2 separate regions of the Homo sapiens genome follow, and region 1 is linked to region 2. The links are contacts of gene promoters, found by promoter capture Hi-C in blood cells and fetal thymus (Javierre and others, 2016). All regions are on one chromosome and are shown on one strand. The core of a region is centred on a gene start or on the middle of the fragment in contact, and the rest is flanking DNA. Distances in the headings are between cores, read along the strand shown.

Evidence for each region. Contacts are between HindIII fragments. The CHiCAGO score rates a contact against its expected background, and 5 or more counts as called.
Region 1: a contact is called between a fragment that was not itself captured here and the fragment with the promoter of NOD1 in region 2, in 6 of 17 cell types (neutrophils, total B cells, naive B cells and 3 more). The highest score is 9.5, in neutrophils.

Annotation. Positions count from the first base shown.
Region 1 is chr7:29,960,843-29,964,866 of GRCh38, forward strand. The region is part of intron 2 of SCRN1 (secernin 1); the gene reads right to left. Among named protein-coding and RNA genes, the nearest start is that of FKBP14-AS1, 26 kb to the right of the region's middle. RefSeq lists an enhancer at 1-612. The HindIII fragment of the contact is 522 bases long and covers 2,244-2,765 here.
Region 2 is chr7:30,475,969-30,480,412 of GRCh38, forward strand. It overlaps NOD1 (nucleotide binding oligomerization domain containing 1), which reads right to left and starts at 2,816. Exons shown (of 14, transcript NM_006092.4): 1 at 2,638-2,816. RefSeq lists an enhancer at 2,312-3,056 and a silencer at 2,705-2,944. The HindIII fragment of the contact is 7,069 bases long and covers 1-3,261 here.

The sequences.
Region 1 (4,024 bases), core at 1,255-3,754, 520 kb before region 2:
AGAGGATACCTATTTATCAATAGGTATTATAAATATTGATACCTATTTATCCATCCTACTCTGCAACCAAAAGAGATGTTGTTAAAAGCCCTGAATACACAAGGGAAATACTAAAGAATATAAAATTGGGATGTTCCAATCGCAAACTGCAGCTGAAAGAAAAAATCCAGTGTAATTTTGGAAACTGAGGAACTCTGTGCTGGAGGATCTTATTTCTTTTTTTTTTTTTTTTTAATTTATTTTTTTATTGATAATTCTTGGGTGTTTCTCACAGAGGGGGATTTGGCAGGGTCATGGGACAATAGTGGAGGGAAGGTCAGCAGATAAACAAGTGAACAAAGGTCTCTGGTTTTCCTAGGCAGAGGACCCTGCGGCCTTCCGCGGTGTTTGTGTCCCTGATTACTTGAGATTAGGGAGTGGTGATGACTCTTAACGAGCATGCTGCCTTCAAGCATCTGTTTAACAAAGCACATCTTGCACCGCCCTTAATCCATTTAACCCTGAGTGGACACAGCACATGTTTCAGAGAGCACAGGGTTGGGGGTAAGGTCACAGATCAACAGGATCCCAAGGCAGAAGAATTTTTCTTAGTGCAGAACAAAATGAAAAGTCTCCCATGTCTACTTCTTTCTACACAGACACGGCAACCATCCGATTTCTCAATCTTTTCCCCACCTTTCCCGCCTTTCTATTCCACAAAGCCGCCATTGTCATCCTGGCCCGTTCTCAGTGAGCTGTTGGGCACACCTCCCAGACGGGGTGGTGGCCGGGCAGAGGGGCTCCTCACTTCCCAGTAGGGGCGGCCGGGCAGAGGCGCCCCTCACCTCCCGGACGGGGCGGCTGGCCGGGCAGAGGGGCTCTTCACTTCCCAGTAGGGGCCGCCGGGCAGAGGCGCCCCTCACCTCCCGGATGGGGCGGCTGGCCGGGCAGGGGGCTGACCCCCCCACCTCCCTCCCGGACGGAGCGGCTGGCCGGGCGGGGGGCTGACCCCCCCACTGGAGGATCTTATTTCTTACTCTTCTAGTCTTAAATACAGTGAACTTGACATATGGAGATGATGGCTGGATGGGACTGACTGACAAGAAGATGGAGAGAGGCTAAGTGGACAAGTTGAAGGGAGAACCGCCTGGAAAGGGGGATCAGTTGGCAGGTGGGTGAGTGGATGAATGAGGAGTCCACACGACTTTTTCCATGGTTTTTGCATGTGTCCAGAGGTTGCCCTAGAAACCTCATACTTGAGAGTGTTGAGGTCCCAGGAAATCATTTTCTGAGAATATAACCACCTAGTATATAATTAGTTTCATATAATTATTAAACACTGTAATTATTAAATAATATAATTATTTACATATAATTAAATTATACAATTATTAAATATAATTATGTATATGTAATTAAATTATATAATTATTAGATAATTGTTTATATATAATTAAATTATTATATAATAAATTATATAATAGAGGGTTATATTCTCAGAAAATGATTTCCTGGGACCTCAACACTCAAGTATGAGGTTTCTAGGGAAACCTCAGGACACATGTTTAAAATGTCATGAAATGGGCCAGGCATGGTGGCTCACGCCTGTAATCCCAACACTTTGGGAAGCCAAGGTGGGTGGATCACTTGAGCTCAGGAGTTTTGAGACCAGCCTGGCCAACATGATGAAACTCTGTCTCTACCAAAAATACGAAAATTAGCCGGCTATGGTGGCACATGCCTGTAATCCCAGCTACTTGGGAGGCTGAGGCAGGAGAATTGCTTGAACCCAGGAGGCAGAGGTTGCAGTGAGCTGAGATCATGCCACTGCACTCCAGCCTGGGTGACAGAGTGAGACTGTCTCAAACATAAAATAAAATAAAATAAAATAACATAAAATAACATAAAATGTCATGAAATGGCTGAGGAATAGATGGGTTTTTATGAAAAGTTCTTACTCTTCATAGTTTAAAAAAGTCTGTATTTTAATAGTTGCTTGTATAAAAGTTACATGATAGTAATTGTGGCTCCTAGACCTAAATATGGAAAGAACCCATCATTCTGTACTTGGTACAAGTATAGGAGATGGAGACAGATGTAACTGTAAGGGAACTAAAGGGGTAAGAGTAAGTTTGAAAAGCAGATTCAGTAGTATGTGATGTGCCAAAGACAGTTTTGGAACTGAGACCCGGAGTCACAGCAATTCTCATTAGTCAATTCTTTAAAAAAAAAAAAAAAATCCTTCTTCACAATGTTCTCCTTAAAGCTTTACAAAGTGCTTTCATGCATCAGCTCACGTGTGTCTCACTAAAGCCTGTAATGCAGGCAGAGGGGGTATTATGATCTCTATCTGGCAAATAAAGAAACTGAGTTTCAGAGAGGCTCAAAGGCCCAAGACACTATAAAGGGAGAGGCAAAACACGAACCTAGGACCCCTCTCTCCTGGGCCAGAACTCATCCTCCTAGTTTCAGGTGGTTGTAAATTTCAATTGACATGCATAGAGGAGTATCAGGCTAAAGGGAGGAGTGGATATTGGTGTTGAGGCCTGGAAGGATAAACAGGAGTCTACCAAGTAGATGAGAGGAGGGGAGAAGAAGGATCTTCTCAGCAAAGGACAGAAAGAGCAAAAGCACAGAAAAATGCAAGTGTGTTATTTGTTCAAGAAAAGGCAAGCAGTTCAGTGTAGCTGGGGCCTAGGGTACAAGCTGAGAGGGCAGAGCTAACAATGAGAATAGAAAAGTAAGCAGGAAATTGTATAACCCTTACGGAGGTCAATTCTTATAAAAGCTTTACCCTATGACCCAATGATGCTACATTTGGAAGTACATCCAATGGTATCTACACATGCACAAAATGACTTATGTACAAGGTTCTCCACAGCTGCACTTTCTGGACTAGCAAAATACTGGAAGGAGTCCAAGCATCTACCAATAGAGCACTAATTAAATGAACTATGGTACATCTCCACAATGGATTACTATGTAGCTGTAAGAAAAAAATAAGGACAATCTCTATAGAAAAATCTTTAGAAAATGTTAAGTGAAAATAGGAAAGTGCAGAACTTTTCTGTAAGTTCAAAGTTATATATTAAAAAATCATGTTTAATAGTAGTATACATAATGTGCTGCATTCACACAAAACAATAGAAAATAAGGCCTGATATTCAGTTTTTTTGGATTTGCATAAAATACTTGAAGGATATGCATGAAATTAATAAGAGTTATACAGGATGGAGACAAGGGAGGAAGACTTCTTACTGTGAACCTTTTAAATATCATTCAATCTTTGAACCACATAAATATATGATTACCTATTCAAAATGAAAAATTACATTTTAAAATGTCTTTAGCCAAATGAGTTAAAAACTTATGTCTACACAAAAGACTGCACACAAATATTTATAGCAGCTATGTTCATAACTGCCAAACTTTAGAATCAACTAAGATGTCCTTCAGTGGGTGAATGGATAAATAACCTGGTATATCCAGAAAATGGAATATTGTTCAGTGATAAAAAGAAATGTGTCATCAAGCTTGGAAAAGACAGGAAGAAACCTTAAATGCACATTACTAAGTTTAAAAAAGCCAATCTGAAAAGGCTACACACTGAATGATTCCAACTATGTGACATTTTACGAAAGGCAAAAGTATGGACACAATAGGATCAGTGATTTCTGGGGGCTAGGGTGGGTGGGTGAATAGGTGGAGCACAGAACCTCTAGGACAGTAAAAGTATTCTCTATGATACTACAATGGCTTGTCATTATACATATAGGTATACCCACAGGATATCCAACACAGAGTATAAACTATGAACTTTAGTTAATAATACTGTATCAGGCCGGGCTCGGTGGCTCACATCCATAATCCCAGCACTTTGGGAGGCCGAGGCGGGTGGATCACTTGAGGTCAGGAGTTCAAGACAGGCTGGCCAACATGATGAAACCCCGTTTCTACTAAAAATACAAAAATTAGCCAGGCATGATGGTGGGCACCTGTAATCCCAGCTACTTGGGAGGCTGAAGCAAGAGCATCGCTTGAACCC
Region 2 (4,444 bases), core at 1,566-4,065:
TGACATGCAACTGACTGTCCCTAGAAGATAAAAGAAAATGGGACTTCTGAAAACTTGCAAAATACCTAGAGCCTCTGCATGACAAAAATTCAGCATAAGTACACATTTTAGCTTTTCTAATTTCTTCTTGCCTAAAAAAAATCCCCCCAATAATAAGAATGATAGAAGAAACTAGTAACTTAAACCTTAAATCCTACGTTCATATCTTAGATTTTGAACAAATATTGAATCCTTTTCTTTGAATAAGAGATAAGACTTTGATAGTCTTGTGTAAGCAAATATCAGTGATCACACATACACTAGAAAAACACTTGATCTTTATGCCTATATTACTTACTGTTTCTATTTCTGATGTCTAATCTAAACAGCACTGCTGTTAGGATCAAAGTGACCATCCATGATGCACAGAGCACGTACCAGGGTAAAGTTCCAGCTGGGACGCAGGCATCAGCAATTGTAGAATTTGGGTTCTCCCTTCCTCAGATCCCTGACTGTCCTTGGTCATTCAAGAAAGATTCACTGTCCCTAGGCCAAGAGTCAGGAGCAAAACAGGAACACCAAGGGTATGGTCTGAGGATGTTGTCAGCAGGGAGCAACGTGCGTGTGTGTGCACATACACTAATTCTGAGACACTGTGCACAGCCCAGCTTTCTTGGAAAGCCATTTAAAAGATATATATGTGGCAACAGAGAGGAGGAAGTCTCAAGATTAAGAACAGCTTTTGAGTGTGTGTGTGTCAAAATATTCATTCCTATCACATGCAGTAAAACTGTATTCCAGAGCCATTAATACGCCCTGGGGGACTGAGGGGATTTGCAGCCTAAGATTTCAGACTTAAAGCCCGCTAAGGCCCTGAGCGGGGCAGCAGGGCAGGAGAAGGAATGGAGCGTTGAAGGGAACATTTTATAGACATTCTCCCTCATAGTGGCTGTACTAAGTAAACAATTAACGGGCACAAACTGCCACTCCAGTGTCTAATAACTACCTCTGCCAGAGCACCTGCCAGCGCCACCACCTTCCAGGTGTGTGATGCACATCATCTCGCTGAACTATGCTAGCCTCAGGAGAGGGTTGCTCTTTATTTTACAGGTGGGAAAACAGGGGCTTGGAGAGGTCAAGGAACTTGCCCAAAGTCACAGCATAGAAGTGACAGAATCCGAGTTTTGACCCAGATTTGATGGGTTCCAAAGCGTGAACTTATTTCTCCACTCCACAAAAATAAAACCTACTCTTCTTACAATATTTGAAAGAGCCCTCTTCTACCACTCTGCTGTTTGTTTTAAACACAGCTTGCTTATCTGTCTGGCATATTCGGTAGAAGTCTGTACTTTGTCAATGCCTGGTTTGCCTGGATTTCAGCTACCTGGCCCCTGGCATCTAAGCCTGGGTGAGAACAGGGAATCCACTCCTCTCTAAGATGCATCGTGGAGTTACTCTTTTACTCTTCCCTGAAAGTGATAGTTCAATCTTCAACAGGGGCTTTGAGGGAGAACAAACTCGACCCTTTGGCAAGCACGACTTCTGGCTTCACCGTTTTTTTGTTTTTTGTTTGTTTGTTTGTTTTTGACGGAGTTTTGCTCTTGTTGCCCAGGCTGGAGCGCAACAGGGCGATCTCGGCTCACTGCAACCTCTGCCTCCCGGGTTCAAGCAATTCTCCTGCTTCAGCCTCCCGAGTAGCTGGGATTACAGGCATGCGCCACCACGCCCGGTTAATTTTTTTTTTTTTTTTTTTTAGTAGAGACGGTTTCACCATGTTGGGCCAGGCTGGTCTCGAACTCTCGACCTCAGGTGATCCGCCTGCCTTGGCCTCCCAAAGTGCTGGGATTACAGGCGTGAGCCACCGCGCCCGGCCCTGGCTTCACCCTTAAAGCAGAAAGGCCAGAAGTCATCAAGGCCATGGGTTTACTAGCTTAGCTTCCCCAGACTTAATTTCAAACACCAACAACCGAAATGTTTCCTAGAATGCAGAGCTAATGAGACATCAACCTCTGTCATTTCCTATGTTTTTCACAATGTGCCAAAACAACTGCACACATTGGAGGCGTTTTTGAATGTGATATTCAGGCGACCTTGCCAAGCATTGTCTCATTTCCTTACTTTGTGGAGCATGAAACCCAAGGGAAGTTCTCACCCTCTCTCCAGGACCAAGCAGGACACTGGGAGCTGCTGTCCCGTCTGCAGGCGGGACTCCATGAAGGCCCCTGTCTGCCCTTCCAGCCTTTGCCACAAACCCTCGAACGCTGGCTGCACACTGGAATCACTTGGGGAGCTTTTAAAAGATACGGAGGCCTGGGTCTGACTCCGTGAGATTCTGATGGAATTGATCTAGGGTGCAGCCTGGATATCTGGATTTTAAAAGCTCCCCAGGTGGTTCTAAGCTGCTGGCACGATTGAGAACCCCTGCGTTCGACCACAGTGGGATAAACGATTCCGCTGACTGTGAAGTTCATCCCTCTCAACTTTCGCTACATGCTTCAAACTCGCGGGTTTCTCCGCTTGGTTCCACCCAGAGCTCCTCCAGAGCCGCGCTGCGTTCCGCCCGCACGCAAATCCCGCCTCCCTGCGCCTCCTCACTCGCAGCGCCCAGGACCTCAGAAAGGGCCTGCCCCGCGCGAATCCCCAGTCGCTGGGACTTACTTGGCCACCAGGTTTACAGACTTCGCAGCCGCTGAGAGCTAGAGAAGAGCCCGGAGAGCGCCATGGTCCGGGGACGCCGGGGCCGGGAAGCGCCGTGGCCCGGGAGGACGCTGCTCCCGCAGTAGCGCGAGGGAGGGGCAGGACCGGGGCGGCTGCCTCGCGGGCCCGGAACGGGAACTGGCTGCGACTACAGCCGCAGCCGCGCCCCTCTGTTGGCGCGCCCAAGAGCCTGCCGGCTGCTGGGAGAGGCCGCCGAAGGGCGGGGGCGGTCAAGGCAGGGTCCCACGGTGCTGCCATTCGCCCGGGTCTGGCGCGGGGGGGCGAGAGAAGCTGCGCGCAGAGGGACGCCCGGTGCGAGAGGGTGAGCCCCTGGCCACCGCGCAGGGCCGAGTGGACAGGCCCAAGTTCGCCCAGAGGTGACACACTTGGGAATTTGTGGTGCCATCGTGCCAGGTCCCTCCTCGTAAAAGTGCCTACCCAGCGCCTGCAACCAGAGCCAAAGCCTGGACATGATAGGGAAACTCTTGTTAAAACGCGACACGTGGTCCTGATGAAATGGAGGTTAACGTAATCAAATTTAAATTACACTGCATACATTTCAATTTATACTTTTTAAAAAATGTAAGCTTTTCTTCCTATCCTTAAATTTGTTCTTGGCAGTGTACATTTTATGTTCTATGCATATGCTCTAATAGGTTGTAAAAGAGTTTTAACATGCTAATAAATGTCCCCAATAAAATAGTTTTAAAACGTTTTGAATGGGGATCGTGTCCATAAGGGATATCATGCTACAGAAAGTTGTCACTTACTCACACTGAAGAAGTACATTCAATCATATAGCCACTGATGCTTGTGAGTATTAAAATTCCCATCAGAGGCTGCCCTCTGAGAAACAGAAAGTATGTTCTTAAATCAAAAGTGAAAGTGCAAACTAAAGTTGATAGGATCAAATGTGCCAACTTGTGTCAGGCCTCTGAGCCCAAGCCTGCATGTATACATCCAGATGGCCTGAAGCAACTGAGGAATCACAAAGGTAGTGAAAATGGCTGGTTCCTGCCTTAACTGATGACATTACCTTGTGAAATTCCTTCTCCTGGCTCAGAAGCTCCCCCACTGAGCACTTTGTAGACCTTCCACCCCCCCGGCCCCCGCCTTGCCCACCAGAGAACAACCCCCTTTGACTGTAATTTTCCACTACCCACACAAATCCTATAAAGCTACCACACCCCTAACTCCCTTTGCTGACTCTTTTTTTCGTACTCGGCCCACCTGCACCCAGGTGAAATAAACAGCTTTATTGCTCACGCAAAGCCTTTTGGTGGTCTCTTCACACGGACACGTGTGACATTTGGTGCCGAAGACCCGGGACAGGAGGACTCCTTCAGGAGACCAGTCCCCTGTCCTCACCCTCACTCTGTGAGGAGATCCACCTATGACCTCGGGTCCTCAGACCAAACAGCCCAAGGAACATCTCACCAATTTCAAATCGGGTAAGCGGTCTTTTCACTGTCTTCTCCAGCCTCTCTCACTACCCTTAAATCTCCCTCTATTTCCAATTCCAGTTCTTTCTCCTCTCTAGTAGAGACAAAGGAGACATATTTTATCCATGGACCCAAAACTCCAGCTCCGGTCACGGACTCAGGAAAACAGTCGTCCCTTGGTGTTTAATCACTGCAGGGACACCTGCCTGATTATTCACGTACATTTCATTGGTGTCTGATCACCGTGGGGATGCCTGCCTTGGTCATTCACCCACATTCCCTTGGTGGCAAGTCAATTGTGGGTCGCCTGCTTTGGCTGCTCAGCC